Linked DNA regions of Homo sapiens: regions 2, 3 and 4 are each linked to region 1. The links are contacts of gene promoters, found by promoter capture Hi-C in blood cells and fetal thymus (Javierre and others, 2016). All regions are on one chromosome and are shown on one strand. Each heading gives the region's core, a stretch centred on a gene start or on the middle of the fragment in contact. The rest is flanking DNA. Distances are from core to core; before and after follow the strand shown.

Evidence for each region. Contacts are between HindIII fragments. The CHiCAGO score rates a contact against its expected background, and 5 or more counts as called.
Region 2: a contact is called between a fragment that was not itself captured here and the fragment with the promoter of GMCL1 in region 1, in 1 of 17 cell types (non-activated CD4 T cells). The highest score is 5.4, in non-activated CD4 T cells.
Region 3: a fragment that was not itself captured here is called in contact with the fragment with the promoter of GMCL1 in region 1 in 1 of 17 cell types (neutrophils); the score reaches 5.3 in neutrophils.
Region 4: a contact is called between a fragment that was not itself captured here and the fragment with the promoter of GMCL1 in region 1, in 3 of 17 cell types (naive CD8 T cells, activated CD4 T cells and total CD8 T cells). The highest score is 7.2, in naive CD8 T cells.

Annotation. Positions count from the first base shown.
Region 1 is chr2:69,825,742-69,833,467 of GRCh38, reverse strand. GMCL1 (germ cell-less 1, spermatogenesis associated) reads right to left here and starts at 3,808. Exons shown (of 14, transcript NM_178439.5): 1 at 3,316-3,808. The coding sequence starts at 3,575. LOC124906021 (a long non-coding RNA gene) reads left to right here and starts at 3,937. Exons shown (of 2, transcript XR_007086846.1): 1 at 3,937-5,454; 2 at 6,690-7,726. ANXA4 (annexin A4) reads right to left here. Exons shown (of 13, transcript NM_001153.5): 13 at 6,356-7,726. RefSeq lists silencers at 3,144-3,319, 3,267-3,346, 3,727-3,956 and enhancers at 2,930-3,850, 4,367-4,456, 3,851-4,772. The HindIII fragment of the contact is 7,336 bases long and covers 1-5,769 here.
Region 2 is chr2:69,518,786-69,526,511 of GRCh38, reverse strand. AAK1 (AP2 associated kinase 1) reads left to right here. Exons shown (of 22, transcript NM_014911.5): 10 at 1,400-1,479; 11 at 5,524-5,678; 12 at 7,272-7,558. It overlaps SNORA36C (small nucleolar RNA, H/ACA box 36C), which reads left to right and starts at 6,341; the gene lies at 6,341-6,468. RefSeq lists an enhancer at 7,301-7,595. The HindIII fragment of the contact is 3,789 bases long and covers 1,423-5,211 here.
Region 3 is chr2:70,124,442-70,132,167 of GRCh38, reverse strand. It overlaps LINC01816 (long intergenic non-protein coding RNA 1816), which reads left to right and starts at 6,852. Exons shown (of 2, transcript NR_024444.1): 1 at 6,852-7,122. RefSeq lists a silencer at 6,937-7,231 and an enhancer at 7,558-7,726. The HindIII fragment of the contact is 2,621 bases long and covers 3,537-6,157 here.
Region 4 is chr2:69,565,844-69,573,569 of GRCh38, reverse strand. The region is part of intron 2 of AAK1 (AP2 associated kinase 1); the gene reads left to right. Among named protein-coding and RNA genes, the nearest start is that of SNORA36C, 50 kb to the right of the region's middle. The HindIII fragment of the contact is 4,994 bases long and covers 301-5,294 here.

The DNA.
Region 1 (7,726 bases), core at 2,559-5,058:
ATTTTTGTATTTTTTGGTAGAGGCGGGGTTTCACTGTGTTGGTCAGGCTGGTCTCAAACTCCTGGCCTAAAGTGATCTGCTTGCCTTGGCTTCCCAAAGTGCTGGGATTACAGGCGTGAGCCACCACGCCTGGCCCGTCTTAGTATTTTCTTACACCCTGCATCCGTATTGGGCTGAATAATCCAAGCATCTTCCAGTAATATACAGACACTAAATTCTGATATGCATTTTCCGATAAAGGTTTGCCTTAAAAACTTTCCATTCCAGTCCACTCATGTAGTCTAGGAGTTGGTACACTTTTTCTGTAAAGGTCTAGATAGTAAATATCTTTAGCCTTCTGGGCCAAAAGGCCTCCAAATAATTTTGTTGGCATCCTAGTAGGCAGTGTCCTACTTGCCAGCCTCAGCTTACCACACTTGAGCAAACTTTTCCACCATCCAGTGGGCTACAGCCACACCTCCTTCAACATCATCTGAATCTTAGCTTGGGAAAGGGGTGGGGGCACCTATTCCAAATTTGTTCCTTCTGTGGCTATTCTGCCTCAGCCTTAGAAGTACTGACTACTACATGTATTTTCTAGGGATCTCTTTACCTTAGCGTTTTGTCCTCAGTAGTTAATTCTCTGTGCCTTGTTAATAATGTTTATATTAAATTTCCTGTATTCAAATTGCTGTGTGATTTCTCTCCTTCAAATGCACTGTGACATATATTTCAATAATTACGTTAAATATAAGTGGTCTAACTACTAATTGAAAGGTTAGATTGTCCTGTTGGACAAAAGAAGCAAGACTCAACTATATGCTGTTTACTTGATATCTGTTTTAAATATACACAGGTAAAAAGTGAAAGGAGGGAAAATAAGATATCATTCAGACATTTATCAAAAGAAAGTGGCTGATGGATACACTACAATCCCAGACTTCACCACTACTTGTTATATACATGTGAGAAACCTGCAGCTGTACCCCCTAAATATAAATAAATAAATGTATATATGTATGTATGTATGTGGTAGTGGCTAAATTACTAGGGATAAAGAAGGATGAACATTTTGTTATGATAAAGGGGCCAATTCATCAAGGAGACATATTTACTGCATGCTTACATTCTAGACATTGTGCATTTGTTTGTTCTCATATTTGTCAAAGCCTAAAAGGCAGGTATTTATATCTCCAATTTACATATGAGGGAAATAAGGCTATTAAGTGCAGAATACAGACAAGAAGTCAGAATTTTTTTTTTTTTTTTGAGACAGAGTCTCACTTTGTCACCCAGACTGGAGTGCAGTTGTGCGATCTTGGCTCACTGCAACCTCGCCTCCCAGGTTCAAGCCATTCTTCTGCCTCAGCGTCCCGAGTAGCTGGGATTACAGGCAGCTGCCACCACGACTGGTTAGTTTTTATATTTTTAGTAGAGACAGGGTTTCGCCATGTTGGCCAGGCTGGTTTTGAACTCCTGACCTCAGGTGATCTGTCTGCTTCAGCCTCCCAAAGTGCTGGGATTATAGGCATGAGCCACTGCACCTGGCCAAGAACTCAGAACTCTTAAAACTATGCTATAGGTTGGCAATGGTGGCTCACACCTGTAATCCCAACACTTTGGGAGGTCAAGGCAACAGGATCACTTGAACCCAGGAGTTCCAGGCCAGCCTGGGTGGGCAACAGAGTGAGACCTTGTTTCTACAAATAAAAAAATTAGCTGGGTGTGGTGGTGCATGCCTGTGGTCTCAGCTACACAGAAGGCTGAGGTGGGAGAATTGCCTGATTCTGTGAGGTCGAGGTAGAGTGAGTCATGATCCCACCACTGCATTCCAGCCTGGGCGACACAGCGAGACCCTGTCTCAAAATAGAGAAAAATTTTTCCAAAGGAAAAAAAAACTATGCTACACTGACGCTTCAAAAAGGTTACAGGGTCAGGCATGGTGGCTCACACCTGTAATCTCAGCCCTTTGGGAGGCTTAGGTGGGAGGATCGCTTCAACCCAGGCGTTTGAGACCAGCCTGGGCAATATAGTGAGACTCCTTTAGAAAAAAGCTCCAAAAATCAAACAAACAATTAAAAAAGTTACTGAATAGTATTCACAGTAGGGGTACATTTTTGTATAATAAATACAAATATTCATACAAAAAAAGGTACAAAAGGTTTTATAAACCAAACTATTAAGTTTTTAATCTATGATTCCTTTTTTACAATATATAACACTTGTATAGCAAAACCTTTTTGAATCTGCTTTTAAAGTTTAATTTTAGGCCGGGTGCGCAGTGGCTCACGCCTATAATTCCAGCACTTTGGGAGGCTGAGGCCAGCAGATCACCTGAGGTCGGGAATTTGAGACAAGCCTGGCCAACACGATGAAACCTGTCTCTACTAAAAACAGAAAACATTAGCCAGGCGTGGTGGTGCGCGCCGGTAGTCCCAGCTACTCGGGAGGCTGAGGCACAAGAATCGCTTGAACCAGGAGGTGGAGGTTGCAGTGAGTTGAGATCGCACCACTGCACTCCGGCCTGAGTGACAGAGCAAGGCTCTGTCTCAAAAAGAAAAAGAAATCATTTAAAAAATTTCATGTGTGACCCTACCAAATAACCTTTAAAAACAAAAGCAGAAAAACCAAATTGTTTGTGTAAGCATATATTCTACCTATAAACTACATTCCAGGTCACAAGTCAATATTCCATCTTTCAACTCATCCAAAAAAAAAAAAAAAAGGGGTTAAACAAGCTGCAGCAGCACCGCCCTACATACAGTACATCCACGGTCAACGACTTCATCAACTACTAGAAACTTGCACAGACTCTGTTCCTAGTTAGGAACAAATGTACACTATTGATAAACTTCACCTTTACAATTAACAAGAACTCCTGTGTGCAATTACTTACCCTCCACTGAGTGGGCGACAATAAGAGTGCCTATTTCAGAGATTACATTTAGTGTCTGTACTAAGGCAACCGGATGCAAAACAACTTACTCTGCGGCTACCCACTTGAGAGGGCAAAGGTGGACTGGGAAGGCCAGCCAGCCGGGCGTCTCTAAGGTTTAACGAGACGCGAGCTCGGGCTTGGCGTTTCTCATCCTCATCTTGGGGCTGTAACAACACCCTGGAAGCGTCTGTGGTTGAAAATGCGGAACACCTGGCGTCTCCCAAGGCGCTCCCCAGTCCGCCCCGCATCGGGCCGGCTTCCACATTCACCCTGTCAAGGGCACGTCCCCTCTCCATAGGCTGGGGAGCGCTGCACCCCGCAAGCGCACGAGGCGCCGGCTCGGCCCCAGGCCCAACAGGTGCGGGTCCGGGTCCGCGCGGGTGCGTGCCCCCACGTACCTTCGAGGGGTGTTGAGGAGCCGCTGCTGCTCGTCCCCCTCCTCCTCATCCTCGTCCGTCTCCGAGTCAGGGTGACAGTAGCAGAAGGACCCGCTGCTCCGCTTGCGCTTGTGGCTGCCCGCACAGTAACAGAATCCGTGGCCCGCCGCATCGTCTCCAGTGTCCGGCCTCCGGGCCGAGCCCCCCGCCCTGGCACCCTGCGCCTGCTGGGCAAGGGCTGGTCTTGGCTGGCGCAGCACCCGGCTGCTCAACGATCCCATGGGTCACGGCTCCCCGAGACTTCAGGGAGCCCAGAGAAGGGGGTCTCCCGCCATGGCTCGGCCGCCGCCGCCAGCCTTCCCCGAGCGCAGGTGCCTACACCGCCACCTTCTCACGCGCAGCCCCAACCGTTGCAGCGGACGCCACAGTCTCCATCCTCTTCCCCGCCCGCAGCGTCCGGTCGCGCCGCGCTCTAGCACCGCAGCACCTCGCCCCCTCGCTTTCGCAACAAAGCGCGGGACGGAGGGCGCATGCGTACGGCGAGCCTCCGGAAGGGGCGGGGCAAGGCGTGCGTGCGTGGCAGGTGGAGCCTGCGCACAATCCGGCGCGCCAGTGCAGGCTGGTGTTTTCGGGCCTGCGGTGGGCGTGGCCTCTGACTAACCCGAACTTCGGCGTAGACGTAGTGTTAAACCGTGGTTCATACGCGCCTCTGTAGTGGCAAGACCTGGGACTCCAGTCACTCATTGTTTCTACAAAGGTGCCTTGAGTCCCCGGTGCTTATGGGCCTGTGCTAAGCTAGTGGCAAAACCCCGAAGCTATTTGGTCTCCTTGCGGGAGCTCGGCGCTTGCTGGGGCCACGCTCTGCTTGCTTGGGCGTGGCCTCCTGTGAGAGGGGGCCCTAGGATGAGGCGATATGCTGGATTCCTGGGCTTCCTTAACATGAGCCCTCCCCTGCTGTAGACGTGAATGGAACCCGTTAAGTTATGGGAACGTTCCCGGCACTCCTTTCCTTTCCTCTCAAGTGCCAGTGGGATGTCCGAATAGGGTCTGGCACCATGACTGTCTGGACTCAAAAGTGCCTTCAGGAGGCCCTAGCAAAATTTACTAGTGTCTGCTTGGAGTAGTAGCAGCTCTTGTGATGGACTCCGGACAGCCAGCGTTCATTCCCTGACTCCCTTCTGTTACTTTTTAAGTAAAATAATGAAAATATTTCAAATAGAGTAATACAGATTCCTGTGGACCGACCACTAGCTTGAAATTTTATCAGACTTGCTTTCATTCTTTTTTCCTCCCAGCTTTATTGAGGTGTAATCAATGATTCATTCTTTTTTAAATAGAACAATACATATAGGCAGAAGCCCCTGCGTACCTCCTCCATCTCATTCTGTCTCCCTCCCCAGTGGCAATCACTGTGCTGAGAATGTTGTATATCATGTCCATGCATGTCCTTATATGCATACCCATAAATAATATTTTCTTTTGCATGTTTAGACATATCATGGAATGGAATCATAGTTGTACCTCTCATTGTGCACCTTTCTCCTCTCTCAAAATTATACTCTCAAGATTTATCCATTTGGTCAATCGCTAGATAATTTTCACTGCTCATTGTATGACTGACCCATATTTGTTTTTACATTCCTTAGTGAGAGAGGTTATTTCTACTTTAACGGCCTTACAGAGCAGCAATGAACATCATGTGCAATGGATTCACCAAGCAGATTCCCAAAAGTGAATTTGCTGCGAAATCTGCAACTTTGTTAGCTATTACCAAATTGCTCTCTGGGTTGATTGCATCAAGGTACCAATTTAGACTCCCATTGGCAGTATACGTAGTTTGAGGGTCCCCGTGGACTAATGTCTGATTCATGCATGAGAAATCTGAACCGAGAGAGGCTAGCCGAGGCAGCTTGGGGTGGAGGTGGGAGGCGGAGAATAATGGCTGCAGAGGGATCAGCTTGCATACACAGAATTTGCCAGCACAAAGAACGTGCAGGTGTTTCCCATGGAGCAGATGTGGACCACCATGAGACAGCTTAGGTCCTGCCCAACAGGCCTGGGAGGAAGGCAATGAACTTCAGCACTGAGAACCTCAAAGAGTCACCAAATTCCTAGAGGCTGAAAAAGGAGTACACATTTGCCTTGCCAGAGGAACCTCAGGTGAGTAGCGTGATGAGGTTGACAAAGGAACCCACAAGAATGCCCACAAGAATCAACTTTAGTCTGTCAGGGTCACATAGGGCTGATCCTCTACCACCACAGCAATGACAGTCAGGTAACAACTTTCCTGCTCCCCTTAACTCTCTTCTTTGCTACAACCCAGACATGGTAGGTTGGGGCAGGGGGAGAACATTGAAGGAAACCTAGGTGGAAAAAGAAGAGAAGCCCATGGTCTCCCTTTCCCCAGAAACCAGCTTCCTACTTGCAATAGGCCAGAGGTGAGTGAGGGAAGAAGCATCAACTGTAAATCAAGCTTGCAATTTTGACTGGATATATTACTTACTAAAATGACACTGTTTTATGACCTTAAGGGACTACACAGTAGGACTTTAAAACCTAAGAGTGAACAGAAAAGTCATGACTCTATCTGAATTTACATCTGAAGAAGGGGAAGAACTGCCCACTGAATAAATGTAAGTGGACAGTGGGAGGGAAAAACAAACATAATTATATCTCAAAGTCATGCTAATTCAATATGACAAACATTCGTCCAGGGTGACTTTATCCCACCTTCTAGAAATCTTCTGGTGAATCAATGCTATTTGTTTTAAAATTTTGGCTAAGCTACATATCATTTAAAGATAAAACTTCTACCAAAAAAATCACCATGCTTCCAAAGACAAAGCTGATGTGGAGATTCTGTGGTCTTCTGGGAAGGCATTGAAGTGGTAGTATTATTTCCTGTAAGTAACTGGAGTGACTAAATATTCACATAAGTAGCTTCTACCAGTAGCTGTAGCTTTTATAATAAACAACACTAAACTAAAAAATTCTTATTATTTCACTCACCAAAATACAATGGATGCTATAAAATCAACAAAAAAGGCAAGTATTCCCACTATAAGAATATGAATGTCCTTTATACATTTATGATATTTAATATAAATGGTCTACTTAGAGCAGAGGGCATCACTCATTTCCAGAGAATAAGTTCATACATTATTTTATGTTATTGAGTAGTGTTTGGCATATGTGAACATTAGCCAGTAGGCACGCATAAGACTAAATATGATTTTTTTTTTCTTATCTTGTAATTCCTGTAGAAACTGAGTAACACAAGTCCTTCAAAAATAGCTCCTTTCAGGGGCCAAGATGAAAAACCTCAGAAGGTGAAAAGTGGATCAGAGAAAGACTATACCTCACTTTAAAGACACTTTTTTTTTTTTTTTTTTTAGATGGATTCTCGCTCTGTCGCCCAGGCTGGCGTGATCTCGGCTCACTGCAACCTTTGCCTCCTGCCTCCTGGGTTCAAGCAGTTCTCCCTGACTCAGCCTCCGAGTGGCTGGGATTACAGGCACCAGCCACCACACCCGGCTAATTTTTATATTTTTAGTAGAGATGCAGTTTCTCCATGTTGGCCAGGCTAGTCTTGAACTCCTGACCTTAGGTGATCCACCCGCCTTGGCCTCCCAAAGTGTTGGGATTACTGGCGTGAGCCCCCGCCCCCGGCCTAAAAACACCATTTTTAAATTAAAATTATTTTTCCACGTTCTTACAAAGTGAACTTTTTAATTAAATCCAAGTACATCTTCAGAATGTTTCTGGAGTTGAAAGGCACAGTGCAAATAGAAATTACTACAATCAACAAAATTGATTTTAAAAAGTATTTTTAGCACAAAAAAGTTTTCTTTATATCATACTAAATTCAGAGCATTACATCATTCCCAGAATACCTAGTTTGAAGCTTATTTTTTTTTCCATTCACTTGCAAGCTGGATTAAGACATTAACTATAATAATATGGAATGTTCAGCATTTATGTTTGGTAACCAGATGTATATGGTTTGTATAACCATACTTTAGAATTTAGTTCAGATAAATTGGTTTTGGTATACTTTGACTACAGAAAGTGATTTCAACATAAGATGTGATGAAGGAAGTCTCCCATGAAAAACTTAGTAAGGATCAACTGATGCTATGGACAAAACCTAAAAAAAGAGATTTGTAGATGCTTTCAAGGCTTTGACTATGAAATATAGAAAACTGGATGGGCATTCTTACTGACCGGATGCTTACAATTTCAAATGAAGAAACTACTAGCCACTCTAAAAATTGGATTAGGGAAAAAAGTGATTTTAGAACAGTCTTCCATTTAAAAAATTTTTCACTGAAAAGAAAATATGGAATAATTTAATATATTCAATGTCTGTGAAACACAAAGTAGAAAGTAATCTTTTAAAAACATGGAATACATATTTATTTCTACTTTAAAA
Region 2 (7,726 bases), core at 2,068-4,567, 310 kb after region 1:
ACATGGCAAAACCCCATCTCTACTAAAAATCCTTGCATATTTTTCATGTCATATTGTGATTTATTTTTCTTAAATATTTTATTAATGGATGCTATAATAATAGATTCTGATCTGAAATGTTCTTGCTAGTTCCTCCAATAATGAACTTTTGATTTCACTGCTGGGACTTAAGGGTGCTGCTCCTCTTTCACTCTCACATTTGGAATCAGATGTGGGGTTCATCCATGTGGAGCTCAGAATATTGGCTTTATTACTAATAAGCTTGAGTCAGAAGATGCAGCTTGACCAGTCAGGCTCCCTAGCATTAGACCCACATGACTGAAATGTAAACACCTGATTCCTGGGGGACCAGCTCTTCTTTAAAGGAAGGAGGGCAAAGCAAACCGGACCAGCTCAGTTTTTCTACAGTCTTAACAGTCACAGAAGTCAACTCTTCTCCTTTGGGAGAGGAATGCTTGAAGAAGAGGAAGTGCTAGAAGTTTTCTAGCAGAAAATCTCCCCCCACCTGGAAACATGAAGGAAGCGAGAGGACCCTCCTAAAAGGCCAGTTTTATAACTAGTATTGTGTGTTGGTTTCCCAGATTAAAACGAGGGATACTGTGCAGTAACCAAACATGACTGTCTTCTTTTGTAGTCCCACTTTCCCATTCATAAAGTTAAATAATGTGAAATCTAAGTGGAAGCATTCAGATTGGTAGCTAGTTTTTTAAAAGTACACCTCACAAGTCTTATGTCATTTGGTACTCAGTAGTGGTAAGCACTTGTTTTAGGGTTAGGGACAGCTAGTTGGTGCTCCCTCATGAGGCATTATTAGATGGATAGTGCAGATTTCAAGCCAGAGGAACTCTCCTTGGCTTGTGGACTGAGTAGTGCCTCACATGTTGGGAAGGGTACTGGCTCAGCAGCCATACACAGAGGTGGCTGTGGTTTTCTCTGAGCATTCTAACTTGCAGACTCAGTGCACCCTGGTTTGACACATTGATAAGCTCGAACGAAGATCTGTCTGGGATCCAGAATAATACCAGCTACAGACATTTCCTTCCCATTCCTTTCATAGCATCACTTCTAAGCTGTGCTATAGGAGGAGAAGGGTACTGAGATCAAGCCCCAGTGACTCACCATGGTACAGAAGGTAGAGAATAATCCGGGAATGTGTGCTGCACACAAGCTACTCTCTCCTCTTCTCAGATACATTGCTTCCCTGACTGTGGCTGAGTCTGATATGCATTTGGTTAACTTTCCTTCCCTCTACCAGACAGAGCTCAGGGCCTGGAAGCTGCTCCAGAAGATCCCAAAATGTGTTTCCATCAGCTCTCAGTCCCAGTCAGGCTGCTTATTCTTTAACAAAGAAATCTGTGATGTCCTTTTGTTTTGTTCTGTTTTGTTTGCAATTCTATAGAACTCTCCCATTCCTGCAAAGCTTCCTGAACCAGTGAAAGCCAGTGAGGCAGCTGCAAAAAAGACCCAGCCAAAGGCCAGGTAAGAAATGCCTTCATGAACACATGTCCTCCTTGGATTGCCACAGCAGCAGGGAATGATGCCTGTGTTTCTTGATTCTTATGTATGCTGTCATGACCAGGGGCTGCACAGATCAGGAAAGCAAGCTCTGTCTTGCCTAGGCAGAAACGGTTCTTTGGGAATGCAAAAAGGAATATCATGAAATATTGTGATCTACATTTGAAAGAGAATCAAGAACTCTGAAGCTGTTTTCTTTGCATGGGAATAGGCTCAGGGGCATTCAGAGATGAGGCAACAGCAGACTTTAAATATTGCTAGTACGGCCAGGCGTGGTGTTTCACGTCTATAATCCCAGCACTTTGGGAGGCCTAGGAGGGTAGATCACCTGAGGTCGGGAGTTCAAGACCAGCCTGGCCAACATGACAAAATCCCATCTACTAAAAATACAAAAATTAGCTGGGTATGGTGGCACACACCTGTAGTCCCAGCTGCTTGGGAGGCTGAGGCAGGAGAATCACTTGAACCTGGAAGGTGGAGGTTGCAGTGAGCTGAGATCACGCCACCGCACTCTAGCCCGGGCGACAGAGCAAGACTCCATCTCAAAAACAAAACAAAACAAAACAAAACAAAACAAAACAAAAAAAGAATGTTGCTAGTACAAGAGTATCCTAAACATTAGGCAGGCATGGTAGCACGTGCCTGTGGTACCAACTGCTCTGGAGGCTGAGGCAGGAGAATTACTTGAGGTCAGGAGTTTGGGATCAGCCTGGGCAATACAGTGAGACCCTATCTCTTTTTAAAAAATGTAAAAAATATCCTAAACATGTGTCCTGACTTTTGGTTAGCTGCATTCACCACCCTAACACTCAACCTCCCTTTCCTTCTTACTTTCTATGGCTCCAACCACATTAGGAAAATGCAGGTCAAAGCACCAGGTCAGTGAACAGCAGAAGACTCTCTGGGTCTTAGCTAATCACAGTCTGTTCAACCTAGGTTCTTCCAAAAAGCAGATGCCAAAAGAGGATTAAACGAAGATGTTATTTGGGGAAATGCCCATGTGAGGGAAAACAGGGAGGGAGCCAGGAAAGGCTGGGAGTGCCATCGGAAGGCAATGCAAGTCTGACCCAGACAGAGGGAGAAGAAGCATGGGTGGAAGTGACCTAGACTGTCTCACAACTTAAGTAAGACTCACCAAAGGTGTTGGGGTCCTTGTGCCAGTCAGCCAGCAGATAGTCCCTCATCTCCTAGGAATTCCTGTGGGTTGGAGGTTAGGGCTGGCAGCAACCTATGGGAAGCATGGCACCAGGGCAAACACACAGCAGTGCTGCATTTAGTGCTGCATTTTGGGAATGCAGCAGCTGAGCATTGGGGTTTTATGCTCCCTGTAGATGAAGGTCTACAAAGCACTTTCGCATGGCTGCCACCCCTTCCAAATGGCAGATTCTAGAGGTAGCGCAGGAGATATTTATACTCCTCTTTTTTCTACCACCATCACGAGTAAGTGCTAGCAGCAAACTGCGTCAACAAAGTACCCTGGATGGGAATATGTGAATTTTAATTGAACAGTCAAATAACACCTGTATCTTAAAAAGTTCTTTAATATTTATTAAATGCCTGCTGTGTACATGAAGTTATTTTAGATGTGCCTCTAAAGTAGTGAGACTTTGATTTTTAATAAACGTAGCAAACTTGCTTAACAAACAAAACTTGTTACTTTGTAGTCTGTCCATTTCCTTCACTAATTCTGCCATGCTCACCTCTTTGGAAGTTGTTTTGGGGCTGATTTAAGTAGCTTAGTCCTTTGTGCTCATGGCTGTCTTGTACTAGGCTCAAACATGATATGTGCAGAGGGTAAGCAATGATCCCTTTCCCCACTCCACTCCACAAAACATACTCATTGAAGTCCATACAAACTAATATTTTGGACATTCTACAATTAATAAAACAGATTGACAGTTACTGATAACATTTGATGTTCACATCTGCCTTATGATGTAGGCATATGTTTTTCCCTTTTACACATAAAGGACCCAAAGCTGAAAGAGGGTGAGTGACATACCCATTATCACACAGTTACTTAGTGAGGAGCTAGAACTCAGATATATTTTTCTTTGGCTCCAGATCCCATTGCTCTAATATGTTCCCCTCAAGAGATGATCAACATGGAGGTTGTGCTGTTTGGGTTTCTACAGAAGCCTGCTCACCTCCCTCACCCTTGGCTTTTTCTTTTTTTCCTCTTTTTTTTTTTTTGAGATGGAGTCTTGCTCTGTCACCCAGGGTGGAGTGCAGTGGCGTGATCTTGGCTCACTGCAACCTCTGCCTCCCGGGTTCAAGTGATTCTTCAGCCTCAGCCTCCCGAGTAGCTGGGACTACAGGCGCGTGCCACCACACCCGGCTAATTTTTGTATTTTTAGTAGAGACGGCGTTTTGCCATGTTGGCCAGGCTGGTCTCAAACTCCTGACCTCAAGTGATCCACCCGCCTCAGCCTCCCAGAGTGCTGGGATTAAAGGTGTGAGCCACCACACCCAGCCAGCTTTTTCTTTCTTACACCTTTCTTCTTTTCTCCAGCACGTGTCCCATTTTTCTTCCCACATCCCTTGCCCAGGTTCTAGCCCCCAAGATGTGATAGCCTTTATATCACCACTTCCCCAACCGGCACAAGAGCATCCCTCTAACAGGTTGCCAGTGCAAAGTTTCTGGGCCCAGGATGGACCTTGGAGGTATGTCATGGGAAGGACATGAGGCCAGCTGCTTTGCTTCCTGTTTTACATTCATGGAGGCTGTTTTGGAAATATTTTGACAAAACATGCTTTGGAAATATTCTTGAAACTTATTAATTTTGGCCTAACCTCAGTTATACTCTGTAAAGTGGAGTTTCAAAGGACGGCCAACTCTGATCTGAGTTAGGTAGTAGCTAGCTGCCTGGACTACTGTAAATGAGTGGAAGTTAGCACCTGGGCTTCTGCACCCCTCACAGGGAGCAAGCAGTCTTCCCTATATTAGTTTGAAAGTGTCGATCTGGCTGTGAATTACAGAAAGTCCAAAGTGACAGCTGCGTATAGAAGATAGATGTTTATTTTTTTCTCTCAAGTAAACAAAGTCTGGAGGTAAGTAGTCCAAGGCCAGCATGGCAGTTCTGCTCCATGAGGCCCTCAGGGATCTAGACTTCTTCAAGCTAACCACATCACCATTCCTACAGTGTAGCTATGGCTGCATGGATCAATATGGCAACATCTCTGCTCCTAGCAGCAGGATCAAGGAATAGTCAAAGAGGAAGACAGAGGACTTGAACCAGTTATTTCTTATGGTTTCTGGAAACTGCCACCTGATAATCTTCTTACATCTCATGTAATGCCAGGACTTAGAAACAGGTTCACACCTGTTTTCAAAAGAGACTGGGCAATGTGATTTTTACTCTGGGTGACCCTGTGCCCAGCTAAAACTTCTGTTACTGTGGAAAAAAGATAGTATGTATATTGGAAGAAATGGAGTTTCTGTGACACTTCCTTTTTATTTTTAAACCCTTTGACTTGAATTATTTACTTTTTCCTTCCAGTTCCCATGTTGGATTCACTCATCTGCATGCTTTTCATTTTAGAGAGACCACTTTAACAGCTAGTTGCAGCCAAGTTTGAATCCTCTTCGCATCTGAAAACCATGTGCCTCAAACCTCTCTTTGCATTATTACCCAAAGGGTATTTTGGGAAATCCTAGGAGGTACTAGGTAAAAGCGCCACAAGAAGAAATAAGCTTGAGAATGCAAAGAGAATACTATATAGCATTCTTTTTGAGATTGTCCTTGCATATTCGCACATGAAAAGTTCTGCTAGAAGGAGAGCCACTCAGTATATTTTGATCAGTGTGTTAAAAATGTATTTGCCCACCAAGCCTACTTTCAGAAGGTCTAGTAACAATGGCATCCTGTGGGAGATTCTTTGGGAAGCATCGATTAAACAGACCTGGAAGGTTTGGGTCGATGTGGAAGCGGAAGCATTGTGTCCTCTGCCCACTCCCTTCCATTTTTCCCATACTTTAATATGAACCTTTCTCTTTTCCCTTTCTAGACTGACAGATCCCATTCCCACCACAGAGACTTCAATTGCACCCCGCCAGAGGCCTAAAGCTGGGCAGACTCAGCCGAACCCAGGAATCCTTCCCATCCAGCCAGCGCTGACACCCCGGAAGAGGGCCACTGTTCAGCCCCCACCTCAGGCTGCAGGTTTGTATCTAGATTGGTTTGAAACTCAATACACCTCTTTGTTATTCTGGACAACAGAGAAGTCTTGGAAAGCCTGGTTTGCTTTAGGATTGGACTCCAGAGGCACACAGAGATAACAGTGTTCCTTGAGGAACAGGAGGAAGCTGCCCTTGAAATTGTATGGCAGTGGCCGGGCGTGGTGGCTCATGCCTGTAATCCCAACACTTTGGGAGGCTAAGGCGGGTGAATCATCCGAGGTCAGTTCGATTTCGAGACCAGCCTGGCCAACATGATGAAACCCTGTTTTTCAAAAAAAAAAGTACAAAAAATTAGCCAGGCATTGTGGTGTGCGCCTGTAGTCCCAGCTACTGGGGAGGCTGAGGCAGGAGAATCGCTTGAACCTGGGAGGCAGAGGTTGCAGTGAGCCAAGACCGTGCCATTGCACTCCAGCCTGGGTGACGAGTGAAACTCCGCTTCAAAAAAAAAAAAAAAAAAAGAAAAGAATTGTATCGCAAATGGCTGGCAAAAGGAGAGGCCTCCTTGAATTCTGAGATGGATCTCCAAAACCACTAAAGCCCTTTGTCGCTTTTTCTAGACTTGGCCCTGATTTTTGCAGTTTGGAACCTTATCCTCCCTCTTTATTTCATATATTTCCCTTTGCCTTTAAAGAAATAAGACTCTTCCAAAGTGTTGAGTTCAGTCCAGGGCAGCTTCCCTGTTCTGTTAATTAAACTTTGGGACATTGAAATGGGCTAGGGGAGATGATTGGGTAGAAAGCATTATTTTATTCATTTGCCTCCCAGCCTACAAAAATGCCTGCTTGGGTCTAATACATCAACAGTTAAAGATGCCTGGAAGAGACAGGACTAAAGAGGCTGAAGAGCTTGGACTAGCAGACAACTTACTTTCAATTTTAGGAAGTTTGGGGTCTGATGGGCTGAGATACAAAGAAACTGAGTTATTTTCATACATGCCTAAAAAAAAAATAGAAACAAGACTCCTCTCTTTTGACATTCACAGAAGAATATTGTTTCTTTAATGCTTTGTCTCTTGAAGTATCTAACACCCCCTCATGTTTTGGCATTCTGTTTCTAATGAAATAAGTAAGCTTTGTTTCATAAAAAGGATTGATCCAAAATATCGAGTAACTGAACCCTACCAGGAAGCTGCTTTTGGTGAATTTGGTGGCCATCTACTTATAGCCACGCATCCAGACTGGGATAAGCTACATGTAGAACACCAGGGAATGATGTTGTCATGCTGCATGCCAAGAGGGGCAAAGCTTGTGCATATGTACCAAAGGCCAGTTGAATATGTAGACATTTGGGGTGCCAACTAAAGTTGTAATTGACTAAATGGGATGATTAATAAGGGAAGACTTTCTTAAGGAGGCAATATTGAACCTTGTTTTGAAAAATTTGAAGCACATAATTTAGCAAGAAGATAGAAAGACATTCCAGGTGGGACAGAGCATGTGGAAAGACAGTGAGGAGGACACGAATCTTGAGATACTCTGCACACTTGTCACCCCCTATTAGTTGTTTTGGCAAGACAGAAAGCCATTTTTGTGTGGAAGCATTTGGAACCCTTACATGGACTTTATTCTCATTGCAGGATCCAGCAATCAGCCTGGCCTTTTAGCCAGTGTTCCCCAACCAAAACCCCAAGCCCCACCCAGCCAGCCTCTGCCGCAAACTCAGGCCAAGCAGCCACAGGCTCCTCCCACTCCACAGCAGACGCCTTCTACTCAGGCCCAGGGTCTGCCCGCTCAGGCCCAGGCCACACCCCAGCACCAGCAGCAACTCTTCCTCAAGCAGCAACAGCAGCAGCAACAGCCACCGCCAGCACAGCAGCAGCCGGCAGGCACGTTTTACCAGCAGCAGCAGGCCCAGACTCAGCAGGTAAGGTGGTCAGAGTGTGGCCCTTGCTTGCATATCTGAGTCATGACTGTGAAAAGGCCCACTAGGTAAAGGTGTCTTCCCAGAGAGCCATTAAACATTACATCACTGTTTCTCATAGATGTAGATACTAAAGCATTGAGAAGCGGATCCATCACTCACACCCCTTTC
Region 3 (7,726 bases), core at 3,598-6,097, 300 kb before region 1:
TTTAAAACTAAAAAAAATGAAAAGATGTACATCTCTTCTGTCCCTGTCCCCCAAATGCCCACTTTCCCCCACCCTAAATAGATAACCCTGTTATAAGGTTTTTGTTTATCCTTCTAACGTTGTTTTTCTACACATACAAGCTAAAACAAATCTATACCCTTCCTTACTCCATTTTAACATATTTAGTGCCAGTCTGTACACGTTCTACACGTTTGTTGGGTTTTTCCCCCGCTTTAACACCCTATCTTGGTGACATTTCCTTATCGGTATATGAGAGTATCCTCATTTTTATCTATCTTTGCGGCTGTAGAGTATTACATTGTATGGACTACTATAATTTAACTGGTTCCCATCAAGGGGTGTTTAGATTGTTTCCAGTCTTTTGGCATTACAAATAAAAGCATGGACTTTAGAGACATGTGCTTTCAAACCCCAGTCCCGATGCCTACTAGGTGATTGACAATGGGTCTTAATTGCCTCCTCTGTAAAGAGGAATTTTTTGTTTGTTTGTTTGTTTGAGACAGAGTTTTGCTCTTGTTGCCCAGGATGGAGTTCAGTGGCGCGATCTCAGCTCACTGCAACCCCCGCCTCCTGGGTTCAAGCAATTCTCCAGCCTCAGTCTCCCAAGTGGCTGGGATTACAGGCATGTGCCACCATGCCCGGCTAATTTTGTATTTTTACTAGAGACGGGGTTTCGCCATGTTGGTCAGGCTGGTCTCGAACTGCTGACCTCAGATGATCCACCCGCCTCGGCCTCCCAAAGTGTTGGGATTACAGGCATGAGCCACTGCACCCGGCCAGGAATTATTTTATGTTTATTTCACCTGTCCCTTAACATTGCTGTGAAAGACTCATATAATATACAAAGAACTTGAGAAATCCTAGGTGCTCAGTGGAAACAATATACCTTGCAATGAAGCATATTCAAATTTATTCTTGAAAAAAAGAATACTGATCAGGACCCCTGGCTCATGCCTGTAATCCCCACGCTTTGGGAGGCCAAGGTCTCAAGAAGGACTGCTTGAGACCAGGAATTCAAGACCAGACTGAGCAACAGAACAAGACCCTACCTCTTCAAAAGTAAAAATAAAAAAATTAGCCAGACATGGTGGCACATGCCTATAATCCCAGCTACTTGGGAGGCTGAAGCAGGAGGATCTCTTGAGCCCACTACTGCACTCCAGCCTGGGTGAAAGAGCAAGACCCTGACTCTAAAAAAAAAATGTGTTTGATTATTTTTTGAGACAGTCTTGCTCTGTCACCCAGGCTGGAGTGCAGTGATGCAATCTCGGCTCTCTGCAACCTCCGCCCTCCAGGTTCAAGTGATTCTCCTGCCTCAGCCTCCCGAGTAGCTGGGATTACAAGTGTGCAACACCACGACTGGCTAATTTTTGTATTTTTAGTAGAGACAGGGTTTTGCCAGGAGTTGGAGGTTGCAGTGAGCCGAGATCACGCCACTGCACTCCAGCCTGGGCAACAGAGCAAGACTCCTTCTCAAAAAAAAAAAAAAAATGTGGCCACTGAAAAATTGTTAACATGATTCACTTTATATTGCTATTGACAGCATCTTCTATGCACTTTCCTACATAATCATCCTTCGCTTGGGTGAAGACAGTCCGTGTGATTGCCTGAGTCTTCTCTTCTCCAGTTATATCACACTGCTTGCGCCTTTTATTTTTTATTTTTTTTCAGACGGAGTCTCGCTCTGTTGCCAGGCTGGAGTGCAGTGGCGCAGTCTCGGCTCACTGCAACCTCCGCCTCCCAGGTTCAAGCAATTCTTCTGCCTCAGTCTCCCGAGTAGCTGGTACTACAGGCACGCACCACTATGCCCAGCTGATTTTTGTATTTTTAGTAGAGACGGGGTTTCACCATGTTAGCCAGGATGGTCTCAATCTCTTGACCTTGTGATCCGCCCGCCTCGGCCTCCCAAAGTGCTGGGATTACAGGCGTGAGCCACCACGCCCAGCCTGCTTGCTCCTTTCAAATCTGTTGATATACTGAAACCTCCTGAACTGAGATCATCCCGAGACCTCACTGTCTTGAACATGCTCAGTTCCCTCCACTCTTCCTTACAGATCATTTCTCATAGAACCAAATTTTGTCATCCTTGTTGTCCACATCTCAATATTCTCCAGGTTATGGCTATCTCTATCCCTCCTGCCCTCCAAAATGAGACCACACGCTTGTAATCCCAACACTTTGGGAAGCCAAGGCAGGCAGACTGCTTGAGCCCAGAAGTTGGACACCAGCCTGGGCAATGAAGTGAGACCCCTTCTCTATCAAAAAAAAAGAAAAAGAAAGAAAACAAAATAAATTTTTAAAAAAGGGGAGACAGAATCCTCCAGAGAACCGTTGCAGATGTCCCAGAAAGGTGATGCTCCCAAGTGCACAGGGACAGAAAGTAGAATGGTGGTTGCCAGGAGCTGGGTAGAGGGGAATGAGGGAGGAGTTGTTTCATGGGTACAGAGTTTCAGTTTAGGATGATGGAAGAGTTCTAGAGATGGATGATGGTGGTGAGTGCACAACCACGTGACTATATTTAGTGCCACTAAACTACACTTAAAAAATTGGTTAAAATGGGGCCGGGCGCGGTGGCTCACGCCTGTAATCCCAGCACTTTGGGAGGCCGAGGCGGGCGGATCATGAGGTCAGGAGATCGAGACCATCTTGGCTAACACGGTGAAACCATGTCTCTACTAAAAATACAAAAAAAATTAGCTGGGTATGGTGGCGGGCGCCTGTAGTCCCAGCTACTTGGGAGGCAGAGGCAGGAGAATGGCGTGAACCCGGGAGGTGGAGCTTGCAGTGAGACGAGATTGTGCCACTGCACTCCAGCCTGGGCCACACAGCGAGACTCCGTCTCAAAAAAAAAAAAAAAAAAAAAAATTGGTTAAAATAGGGTGGGTGTGGTGGCTCAAGCCTGTAATCCCAGCACTTTGGGAGGCCGAGGTGGGTGGATCACCTAAGGTCAGGAGTTCGAGACCAGCCTGGCCAACATGGTGAAACCCCGTCTCTACTAAAAAAAAAATACAAAATTATCTGGGCATGGTGGTGGGCAGCTGTCATCCCAGCTACATGGGAGGCTGAGGCAGGATAATCACTTTAACCTGGGAGGCGGAGGTTGCAGTGAGCCGAGATTGCGCCATTGCACTGGGCAACAAGAGTGAAAACTCCATCTTGAATAAAAAAAAAAAGCATTAGTCTCTTCACCCCACTCCCCATCAAGTTTTCCCAGACTGGGCCGGGCGCCATGGCTCACGCCTGTAATCTCAACAATTTGGGAGGCCGAGGCGGGTGGATCACGAGGTCAGGAGATCGAGACCATCCTGGCTAACATGGTGAAACCCCGTCTCTACTAAAAATACAAAAAATTAGCCAGGCATGGTGGCGGGCACCTGTAGTCCCAGCTACTCGGGAGGCCGAGGCAGGAGAATGGTGTGAACCCGGGAGGTGGAGCTTGCAGTGAGCGGAGATCGCACCACTGCACTCTAGCCTGGGTGACAGTGTGAGACTCCGTGTCAAAAAAAAAAAAAGCTTTCCCAAACTGGAAAATGCATGCTGTCTTGCGGCATGGTCCTGGGCATCTGTGAGGGCCTGCACTGACCTCTGAAGTATCTCCATGTCCAAGGGAGTACAACAATAAATAGTAAATAAAAACATCATGACAGGTTGAGAGAGAGACTGTAGAAAAAATGAAAGGGCTTTTTTCATCCTTTTATGAGAAAGGGGCCCATATTTTCATTTTCCCCTGGGCCCCAAAAATTATGTAGCCAATCCTGCTGGCAGATAAAACATTCCTGAAGGAGGTAGCCAGAAGCCTAATAATATTCTGGGGGTATTGTGGCTTAAGTATGTCAGCCCTGTCCAAATGTAGAACAATGCTGGGGGCTATTTCAAGCCACGTGAAATGTCAACACCTGTGGTAAAGGACTATTAGCAAAGCTAATGTGCAGAGTCTGCACACATGACAAGAAAAAAGTCAACTTGCTAGGAGGGGTTTGTTGGCTGTTTAGCTTTATCTGGACAAGGGAAAAAGTGGGTAGAAAAGGCTCTCTGGCTAGTTCCTCCTTGAAGCAAGAACTCAGCTTGTTTCTCTGGATAGTCTGTGGTCAGATATAACAATGGAAACTTCAGGAAATCTTTATTTAAAAAGAGAAGGTATCTCCCCACACCTTCTTCAATATTAGGTGCCACCAAATTCTGGCTGTTGATCTGTTACTCAACAACAACAAAAAATGTCTTTTGTTTATTTTTATGTCTGATTCCAAGGAGAGTTGAACTTATTTAAAGTGGGTCTTTAAAAAAAATCACTTCAGATGTTTGTTTCTTTTGAATTTTCCATTGGTATTCATTTTCTTATTTATTTGCAAGCACTTCCTACATAGCAAGAATAACAACATTTTGTTTTCATGTGTGTTGCAAATAGGTTTTCCCAGTTTGCCTATTGTTTTTTAACCTTGCCCGTTTGGAATAGCTTCAAGCCACATCATCTGATGGGAATGGAGGTCACCCTAACAGTGATACTGCAATGTCACTAATTCAATAACCACCAAATTTACTGCTAATAATCGCCAACATTTACTGAACATGCACCATATGCTTCATGTGCCATTAATCCACAAAATTACCCTATAAAGTAGGTACTATTTTTAGTTTCATTTTGTAGATGAAGAAACAGAAATAGGAGAGGCTAAGTAATGTGCCTAGTTACCCAGCCTAGTAAGGGATGGAATGTGGGGCTTGAACCCAGCCCTGACTCCTAAGTCCAGTTTCCAACCCTGCACTGTCCAATACAGTGACCGCAGGTAGCTATAGAGCACTTCACATGTAGCCAGCCTGATTTCAGAGACCAAGTGTAAAAAAAAGAATGTCAGATATCTCATTATTAAAAAATTTTTTTTTCAACAGGGTCTTGCTTTGTCACCCAGGCTGGAGTGCACTAGTGTGAACACAGCTCACTGCAGCCTCAACTTCCTGGGCTCAAACGATCCTCCCACCTCAGCCTTCTGAGTAGCTGGAATCACAGGTGTGTGCCACCATGCCCAGCCTCTCATTATTAATTTAAAAATTGGCCAGGTGTGATGGCTTACGCCTGTAATCTCAGCACTTTGGGAGGCTGAGGCAGGCAGATCACCTGAGGTCAAGAGTTTTGAGACCATCCTGACCAACAAGGTGAAACTCTGTCTCTACTAAAAATACAAAAATTAGCCGGGCATGATGGCATGCCTGTAATCCCAGCCACCCGGAAGGCTGAGGCAGGAGAATCGCTTGAACCCAGGAGGCTGCAGTGAGCCAAGATCGCACCACTGCACACCAGCCTGGGCAACAGAGCAAGACTCCATCTCAAAAAAAAAAAAAAAAGTGCCTACTGAAAAATTGTTAACATGATTCTGTTTACATTTCTGTTGACAGCATCTTCTATCCACTTTCCTACATAATCATCCTTCACTTGGGTGAAGACAGTCTGTGTGATCACCTGAGTCTTCTCTTCTCTAGTTATATCAAAAGGCTTGCGCCTTTTAAATCTGTTGATAAACTGAAACCTCCTTGCTTCCTGGTTTTCTTACATGAATTGAGATCATCCCAGGACCTCACTGTCTTGAACAAGCTCAGTTCTCTCCACTCTTCCTCACAGATGATTTCTCATAGGACCAAATTTTGTCATCCTTGTTGTCCACATCTCAATATTCTCCAGGTTATGGCTATCTCTATCCCTCTTGCCCTCCAAAATGAGACCACAGGCGGGGCACAGTGGCTCATGCTTGTAATCCCAACACTTTGGGAAGCCAAGGCAGGCAGATTCCTTGAGCCCAGAAGTTGGACACCAGCCTGGGCAATGAAGTGAAACCCCTTCTCTACCAAAAAAAAAAAAGAAAGAAAGAAAAGAAAATAAATTTTTAAAAAAGGGGAGACAATCCTCCAGAGAACCGTTGCAGATGTCCCAGAAAGGTGATGCTCCCAAGTGCACAGGGACAGAAAGTAGAATGGTGGTTGCCAGGAGCTGGGTAGAGGGGAATGAGGGAGTTGTTTCACGGGTACAGAGTTTCAGTTTAGGATGATGGAAGAGTTCTAGAGATGGATGATGGTGGTGAGTGCACAACCACGTGACTATTTAGTGCCACTAAACTGTACACTTAAAAATTGATTAAAATAAGCTTTATGTTGTGTACATATTACCACAAATACAATAAAAGAAATGAAGTTCTCATACGTGCTGCAGCAGGGATGAACCTTGAAAAGATTATGCTAAGTGGCCGGGCATGGTGGCTCACACGCCTGTAATTACAGCACTTTGGGAGGCTGTGGCAGGAGGATCGTTTGAGCTAAGGAGCTGGAGACCAGCGTGGGCAACATGGCGAAACCTGGTCTCTACCAAAAATACAAAAATTAGCTAGGCAGTGGTGGCAGCGCACCTGTAGTCCCAGCTATTTGGGAGGCTGAGGTGGGAGGATCACTTGAAACCCGGAGGTGGAGGTTGCAGTGAGCTGAGCGCCACTGTGCCCCAGCCTGGGCGACAGAACGAGACCGTGTCTCAAAGAAAAAAAAATAAAAAATAAAAAACCTTGTACTAAGCAAAATAAGCCGACACAGAAGGACGAATATTATATGATTCCACTTATACGAAATACCTAGAATAGGTAAATTCATTAGACAATTAGCCAAAGTGTATCAGAGGAGGTTGGGGGGATGCTGAGGGGAGGGGAAAAGAAAAAAGAAAATCAAGGGGTGGGAAGCAAATGGCTGCGGGGTAGAAGGGGAGTGGGCTGCCGCTTGGGTGTGTGGGCGTCAGGGGGAGACGGGACAGGCGATTTAGGCCCTGCGCGCAGGCGCCCCTGCGCTCCCGCCGTACGCAGCTGTCTTTGTCTGGGGCGGCGGCAGCGTGGCAGGAGCGAGGGGCGCCCCGACCCGTCCCCTCTGCCCTCCACTACCCCTGCCGGCTCCAGCCCGTCCGTGTCTCACCGTCTTTATTTAACAAAGAACGGAGAGACTATAAATGACCCTGAGCAGAGTGGCTGCGAGCAGGGCCCCTGGGGCGTCCCACGGGCGTCATCCTAGCCGCGTGAGCGCCGAGCTTGGGCACCGGGGGGGTTGGCGTGCTTGTACACTTGCTCCGTTTTCTCTGTAAGTACTAAGGATTCCCCTGCCGCCCTCTTCCTCATTTTCCACCATCCCAATTTACACAAGCATTAGTATTTTTTTTTTTTTTTTTGAGACGGCGTCTCGCTCTGTCACCCAGGCTGGAGTGCAGTGGCGCGATCTCGGCTCACTGCAAGCTCCGCCTCCCGGGTTCACGCCATTCTCCTGCCTTAGCCTCCCGTGTAGCTGGGACTACAGGCGCCCGTCACTACGCCCGGCTAACTTTTTGTATTTTTAGTAGAGACGGGGTTTCACCGTGGTCTCGATCTCCTGACCTCGTGATCCGTCCGCCTCGGCCTCCCAAAGTGCTGGGATTACAGGCGTCAGCCACGCGCCCGGCCACAAGCATTAGTATTTACTTCCGTAATTTCCCCATGCCCATGTAACATCACACACACACACACACACACACACACACACGTTTGCTTTTGTTTTCCAAGATGGCATCTAGTAGGCGCTTCTCTTTGTTTTGCTTTTCTAGTACACCGTGGAACCCCAAATCCCAGCTGGGATTCACTCTTTTCTAATGGCTGAACATTCATCCGGGGCATGAAGGCAGCTCAGTTCATTTCATCATTCCTTTGTTTCC
Region 4 (7,726 bases), core at 1,548-4,047, 260 kb after region 1:
TCTACCAGAGGTCTTTCTGCCTCACTGAGACTACTTGCCGATGCAGCTTATGGATTACTCAGCTCCCATTCCTTTCCCTCTTCTCAATATTTTTTGACATGTAGCCTTACCACTAGCATTAGATACTTGGGTGGAATGCTTCTCGTCTTCCTTCCAGGTCAGGTGGGATTCCCTGTTCTTCTTCAGAGCTACTTTTCCTCCTTGTTTTAGCATATATCTTGTCTAAACCGTGTGACACCTTGGTTTGTCCTGGTGCCCTGTCCTGGCTTCTGAATGAATGAGCACTTTCCTAATTAAGCTTCAGATATTTTTTCCTTAGGCTTCTGACTGCTCTGCACTGACCTCGTGGCCTCTCTCTTCAACCCTTTGTTGAGGCCCCCAAGACTCTGGTTATGGAAGACCCACCTTCCTCCCCAGCCCACATTCTGTCTCTGTTCTGTTTTGCCTGGTACCCATTTATTATCAATCTAGTTGATGAGTTTATACTCATTTGGTTTTTAGGTTGTTAATGCTAGGTCTCTGCTTCAGGGAAGCTGGGTTTCTTTATGTTTTATTTGGAGCCTGAGTCAAGTCTGATCTCAGCTTTGTCCAAGAGGGCTGAGTCGGCCATCCCTGGAGCTTACTGCATCGCTGGAGCTTCCACTGAGAGCCAGAAACTGACTCCTCAGTTTTGTTTCTCTTCCTATTACCCAGCTCTCACTTCCTTGGAGTCACTAGGTTTCTGTTTACCCGGAGGAATGTCTTGACCTCTCAGGTCTTTTGGAAGCACAGTGAGAGGACGACAGAGAGATCAGTGCCTGGGCAGACTTCTCTCTTGTGCATACAGCATTTTCACACAGCCAGGACTGGGGTGAGCCACTCGCCTCAAGTGCAGAATTTAAGGGGCACTCAAGACTCAGTAATCAAGATAAAGAATATTTGTATGCTTTTTTTTTTTTTTTTTTTTTTTAAAGACAGAGTTTCGTTTTTGTTGCCCAGGCTGGAGTGCAGTGGCATGATCTCGGCTCACTGCAACCTCTTCCTCCCGGGTTCAAGGGATTCTCCTGCCTCAGCCTCCCGAGTAGCTGGGATGACAGTTGTGTGCCACCACACCTGGCTAATTTTTGTATTTTTAGTAGAGACAGGGGTTTCTCCATGTTGGCCAGGCTGGTCTCGAATTCCTCACCTCAGGTGATCTGCCCACCTCGGCTGGGATTACAGGTGTGAGCCACCATGCCTGGCCTCAGTTTTTTAAAAATAAAAATTAATGCAAACAACCATGGTGAACAAAATATTAGAATTTAAAATAAAGACAGGATCAGTAACAGTGTTGTGCTCAGCCACCCTGCAGCCCAAGACCAAGAAAAAATCAGTAATTCTGAGTCTGTCCCTTTGTGCTCAGGGCAAGTGCCTCACTCCCCTCACCCTAGTCCTGACCCTGGTTTCACACCAAAGGTGGAGTAAGTTTTCCCCTGATGTAATTCAGTTCATCAGTTGGTGCTGGCATGCTCCTTGGTCCTTCTTGGAAACTTACCTTCTTCACAGGCCTTGCCAGGTTTGTCTGTGGCTGGGCTTTTATTTCATCTGATATGAAAGACTCCAGCCTGTGTTTCCTCCCGTTTGAGGGCTTAATCCTCTTCTCTGTGATTGCTTTCTGATAATCCCAGGTGAAAACCATCTTCACAACATTCCCAGGTAATGAGTGCTCTGAGTGGCAGAGATCTTGGCTCCTGTCCTCCCTAACACTGATCCGTCAGCTCAAGAAAGGTAACAGTGCAAGCCATGTACCCCTGTCCACTTCTCTGTGTCTGTCCTTTCCCAAATAGGTATTTGACCATTTTTCTTCCTTGGTCTCAGTATACTAATGCAAGTACTGTTTTAATGTAAATCTAGTCCTTATCTTAAAAATTCTAACTCATCAAGTGTAATTTTTAGTATTATATTTTAACACTCTGTTCTGGGTAGTTTCTATTAAAGCCTGTAATTGTTAAAATTATTGAAACTCATATTATTGAGCTCATATGTTCTACAGACATATTGGTGCAAGGTGACTTAGAGTCATTGGGTGCAAGGAACAGAAATTTAATTCAGATTAGATTAAGTAAAAAGGAGTGTATTGGATAAGTACAAGGGAACCTCCCAGAACCCAACAGCAGGAAGTGAAGCTAGATTTTGTGGGTGTTGGAAGTTACCAGGTCTTTCTTCTGTCTGCCTCTCTGTCTGTCTCTCTGGAACACACATGGCTGACAGTAGCAGCCATCAGCCTAGTCTACATGGTTGTGTAGCACCATTTGATTACAGTTCCTAGGTCATCACTTCGGATTCTCAAGGGAGAATGCACTCCAGGTGTCCTCTCCTGGTCCAGTTAGCTGTGGGAGGGAAAGAGGATCACTTGACATAATACATCTCTAATCATTATTTTAGCATAGGGTGAAGAGTATGATAAACTAGGCCAATGTGTTTCGTACAATGAATAAAAATAAAATCCTTGCCCTGTGAGAGAATATAGTCCTAGCAAGAAAGACTAGAATGCATACAAGTGGGATATAATCAGGGTAAAAAAATCAAGGTGGGCATGGGGGTGGGCATTCTGTTGGGTGAAAGTTCACAGAGAAGTCCTGGTTTGATCTACACCAAACTTAGAGCTGTGAGTTTACCAGTTAAAGAGGGGATGGACATTCCAGTACAGGGTACATACAGAAAAGCACAGAGGCATCAGAGAACACTGGCCAGGCACTCTCAGGAGTTCACTGTGGGTTCCAGATTATGATTGGCCTTGTACATCATATTAAGAGATTTAATCTTGTAGATGATCAAGAGCTAGAGGAGAATTATAAGTAGGGAAGCAACATGATTGGATGTGCTATTAATTTGCCAAACATCTATTAATCATCTACCACGTGCTAAGCACTGTATTAGCCCTGAGGATTCCAAGATAAATAAGAAGCTCTCCTTGCTAGTTTTATTTTCTTTGGTGACTCATTTTTCAGGTGCCCTACCTAGAGAACAGCCTAGAATGTTGTTTTTATAGGTTCACAGTATCCAAAATCCTTACACTGGTAGGAATAACAAGTATCATTTCTACGGCAGAAAAGAGTGGTTCCCTCTTTGCCTTGTCTGTCTAGTGGAGAGATTAACACATCCAAGATAATCACAATACATTATGATAAGTGCAACAAAATAGAGCTTCAGGCCACATGTATGGTAATCTGAAAATTTGGGTGACTGGCAGGGACAGGGAGGACTTTGCAGAAGAGGTGTTATTTTAACAATTGTAAACTCATTTTGTCAAGCAGAAGACTGAGACAGGATATTCCAGGCAGAGGAAACAGCATGTGTGAACCTCCTGAGAATAAAGCAGCAAAAAGGTTAAAGTTCTGAAAGTTTGTTGGGTTGGGAGGAGCAGAGGTGAGGAAGAGGGAGTATTGAGAGATGAGGCTGAGTGAGGAAAGGGCAATATTCAAATTATAAAGGGACTGGAACTGTCATACATTTTTGGTGGGAGTATACAATGGTACAATCACGTTGTTGGTATAAGAAAAGCTCTGTCACTTTCTTATAAAATTAAACATATACCTATCCAGTGACCCAGCACTTCTACTCTTAGGTATTTACCCCAGAGAAATAAAAATATGGCACAAAAAGACTTGTACAACAGTGCTCTTAGAGCTTTCTTTATAACAGCCCCAATCTGAAATAACCCACGTGTCCATCCGTAAGGGAGAGGACAAACAGATTTATTCAAATAATGAAACACTAGTCAGCAATGAAAATTAACAAACTACTAATACATTCAACAACATAAACAATTATGATGAGTAAAATATCCTTACACAAAAAAGCACATACCATATGAGTCTATTTTTCTGAAGTTCTAAAGTAGGCTAAACTAATAATACATGAAAACAATCAGAACAGCGGTTGCCTATGGGAGGATTTGGGTGGGATTGTCTGGAAAGGGGCCTGAGGGACTTTGTGTGAGATGGAAAGATTTTATATTTTGATGGGGGTTTGGGTTACCTGAGTGTGTTCACTTACCAAAACTCATCCAATAGCACACTGAAGATTTGTACATTTCACTGTAAATAAATTTTATTTACCCTCATCCCCAAAAAGAATGATGAACCCTGAATACTAAAGATATGTATGCTGAAGTATTTAGGGGGAAGTGCACTGAGGTTTGCAACTGACTGGGAAATGCATCAAAAATGAGATGAGTTGATGTTTGGATAGATGGATGATAAACAGCTGATAAAAGAAGTATAGCAAAATGTTAATACTTGTAGATTCTACAAGTGGTGGGTGTATGGATGTTTGCAGTTTGATCTTTTCAACTTTACTGTATGTTTGAAATTTTTCATAATAAAATGGGGAAACGTATAAAGGCTCTTATATTCTGCTGCATTAAGGAATTTGGACTTTCCTCTGGCTCGAAGGGACTAATGAATGCTTTTAAGAGGAGTCATTCCATACAAGTTTTAGAAAGAGACTGGAGGCACAGAAACTTATGACTCTATTTTAGTTTTTCAGTAAGAAAAGAGGAAGGCCTGAGCTAAGGGGCATCAGGGGTGCAGTAGAAGGGATGGATTCTGGGTTTGGGGATAGAATTCTTAAGACTCAGTGAAATCAACTTGGCAATGGTGGGAGTTGGGGTGGGGAGGATATTGTGAGCTGGTGCCCAGTCCTGATTGAAGGACCACGACCTAGGGGCTGATGGATGACAGTTGTGTGGTCAGATAGCCTGAATGTCAGAGGAAAGGCTTTAACACGAAGTTAAGTTAGAATGCTCTGTAACTAATGGTTGGGAGCTAAGAAAACGTCAGCCTGCTTTCCAGCATGAGAGCCCATCTTTCAGAACATAGGAGGGTCAGGGCAGAATAGGATGACCTGGAAAAAGTAGTTGTGTCTGGAGACCAGTTCTAAGGAAACCTAAAGAGTTGAAAACAAGCCTGGGCAACATAGCAGGATCCTGTCTCTACAAAAAATTTAAAAATTAGTTGGGTGTGGTGGCATGCACCTCTAGTCTCAGCCACTTGGGAAGCTGAGCTGGGAGGATCACTTGAGCCTGAGGGTTCAAGGCTTCAGTGAGCCATGATTGCACCACTGCACTCCAGTTTGGGTAACAGAGCGAGACCCTGTCTTAAAAAAAAAAAAAAAAAAAAAAAGTTGAAAACATTTATATACCTTTGATGCCAGTGCGTATTCCATAACCTGGCTACTAAACTCACATCATTACACTAGAAAGTGCTCAGGATTCACAGTTACTTAACCCGATCTTTCTACAAAAGCAGTAAGTGTGGAAAACTGTGTAAGCTTTGAAGCATGAAGTTGAACTGGAATGTTCTCGAATTAACATTTGGGAGCTGAGAGAATGTCAGCCGGAACTTCAGCTTTGCTGAGTCTCCCATTCTCTTTTGGAGAATGTAATCCACTAACATATGGTGTCCTGGTTGAAATGATCAGAGCCACAGCTTGAAGGTCTGTAGCATGGGTGGGGACTGACACATGTGAGCACCGATGCTGCTCCCTCCGGCTGACCTCTGCTGCTCTGTTTGCTCATCACTTACTAGGAGATTGTGGCCCCGGTGGATTAGAGGGATGAGCACAATTTATGCCCAAGAGGCTCTCCATTCCTTTAGGCAAGGGATGCTTCAGGATCGAGCATGGGGTGTTTCATTTCTTTTCCCTCTCAACTGAAGAGCGTTTTGATTTCCAGCACAATTATTATTTTTGAAAGAAGCAATAGTGTGTAGGACAAGTATTTATTATTGTGACAGCAGAGAGATTTCTGTGAAGCTCCCCTTAAAGTTCCACCTTGAGCACTTGCCCTGGGGTGAAGGGTTCAGTCCTGTCTCACACTGCTCAGTTGTGCCAGGCTGAGCAGTGCAGGGTTTTTCTACCTTTTCACCAAGAGGATGTTCTCTTAATATATGTCCCTTCTAGTCCATACTAGACTCTAACCTTCTGAAGGTCTGGTAAGGGTTTTTGTTGTTGCTGTCATTGTAGTTTTGTTGTTTTTTTAAAATTTTTTATTGGTATCCTTTATGGTACTCAGCAAACACATTGTATAACAAACACTTGAGAACCTGCTATGGAGCAGCCACTGTGCTGGGTGACAGAGATGCCACAGTGAATCAGTCATCGTCCCTGCCCTTGTGCAGTTTAGAGTGTACAGGGGAAGAAGGCATGCAACCAGGAATTACCCTATAAGTATTTAATTATATTCATGGTATGTCCTGGAGGGAAAGTAGAGGGTGCTGTGTATACCAAAGAACTTAATCATATGGGAGTGAGGGCCAGGGACCATCAGGAAAGGCTTAGCAAGGAAGTAACGTTTAGCCTGAAATCTGAAGGATGATTACTAGGAGTGGCTCAGGCCAAGAATGGGGTGAAAGGGCCAAAGGGAGAAGCATGTGCAAAGATCCTTAGGCAGATTGGAGCATAAGCAATGCTGAAGAAGAAAGAAGGCTCTTGTGGCTGGAACAGAGTGAGCACTGGAAGGTGGAGGTGTATGAGCTAGGTTGGAGAGAGACCACATCACTCTGGGAATTGCGGGCCTTGGTCAGTATTTGGAGTTTTATTCTAAGAGGGGTGAGAAGCCATTGCGAAGTTTCAAATGATATTAAGTTTCTGATGTCTTTCAGCATATCTCTCTACATTTGCCAGATAGCTAACTCTGTGGCAGCAGTACGGCAAAGGTGGGGGCGGGTAGCTTGTGGAAAGGCCCTTTCTTGGTTAGCCTTAGCTGATAGCCCAGGCCCAATGTGCTGTGGTTCTAGGTGCAGTAATCAAAAAGTCTCTGGTATATGTGAACCAACTTGATTTCTTAAACTCTTCCCTTTTGTTCCAGGCAAGTATTTTTCCTGGAAAATTAATTTTTGAGAGGAGGAGGGAGACTCTTGCCAAACCCCTAAAAAGAACCTCCTGAGCTGGAGATCCTCCCCAATCAATCATAACAGTCCTGGAGAGAAAGAACCAATAGCCAGGCCAGTGTGCCATGTTCAGCCTGGGCTGTGGCCTCGATTGGGTTCTGTTGATGTTTCTGTACCACCTCCACAACCACCACCGTTTGCCAGTCTCTGATTTTGTGCCCACAGCTTGAGTGGGGAGAGAGGGAGTTGAAAACCTCAAGTCATCCCCCATCTGGGTGTTCTATCTGCTTGGGGAAAGGACTGCTTTGACATGTTCTCCAGAAGGAGCTGGCACATGATGATTTTTAATTGAGGCAAGTGAGGAGAGATTGACATTAAAAAAACAAACCCCAAGCCCCCACTGAAATCAGTGTTGACACATGCTTTGCATTGACCTTTTCTCCTGGAAAAAGCTTTGCTGTGCTCCTTGCCATCTGTTCTAGAGTTTTGAAAACTTTTGTTCCTTCCGAAGCTTTTGGCAAAGTTGTCTTCAATGTAAGTTGTGGATGGGTGTTGATCAGCCTCTTGGGGGTCATTCCTTGTGGGAGCTCACAGATGCTGTGGATAGAGCACCCAAGTTCTCACCATGGAGAGGACACTCTCCCACTTGAATAGTGCACCCAGGTTCTCACTGTGGAGAGGACACTCTGCCACCTGAATAGTCCACCCAAGCTCTCACCATGGAGAGGACACACTCCCACCTGAACAGTGTACCCGAACTCTCACTGTGGAGAGGACACTCTGCCACCTGAATAGTCCACCCAAGCTCTCACCGTGGAGAGGACACTCTGCCACCTGCATAGTGTACGCAAGCTCTCACTGTGGAGAGGACACTC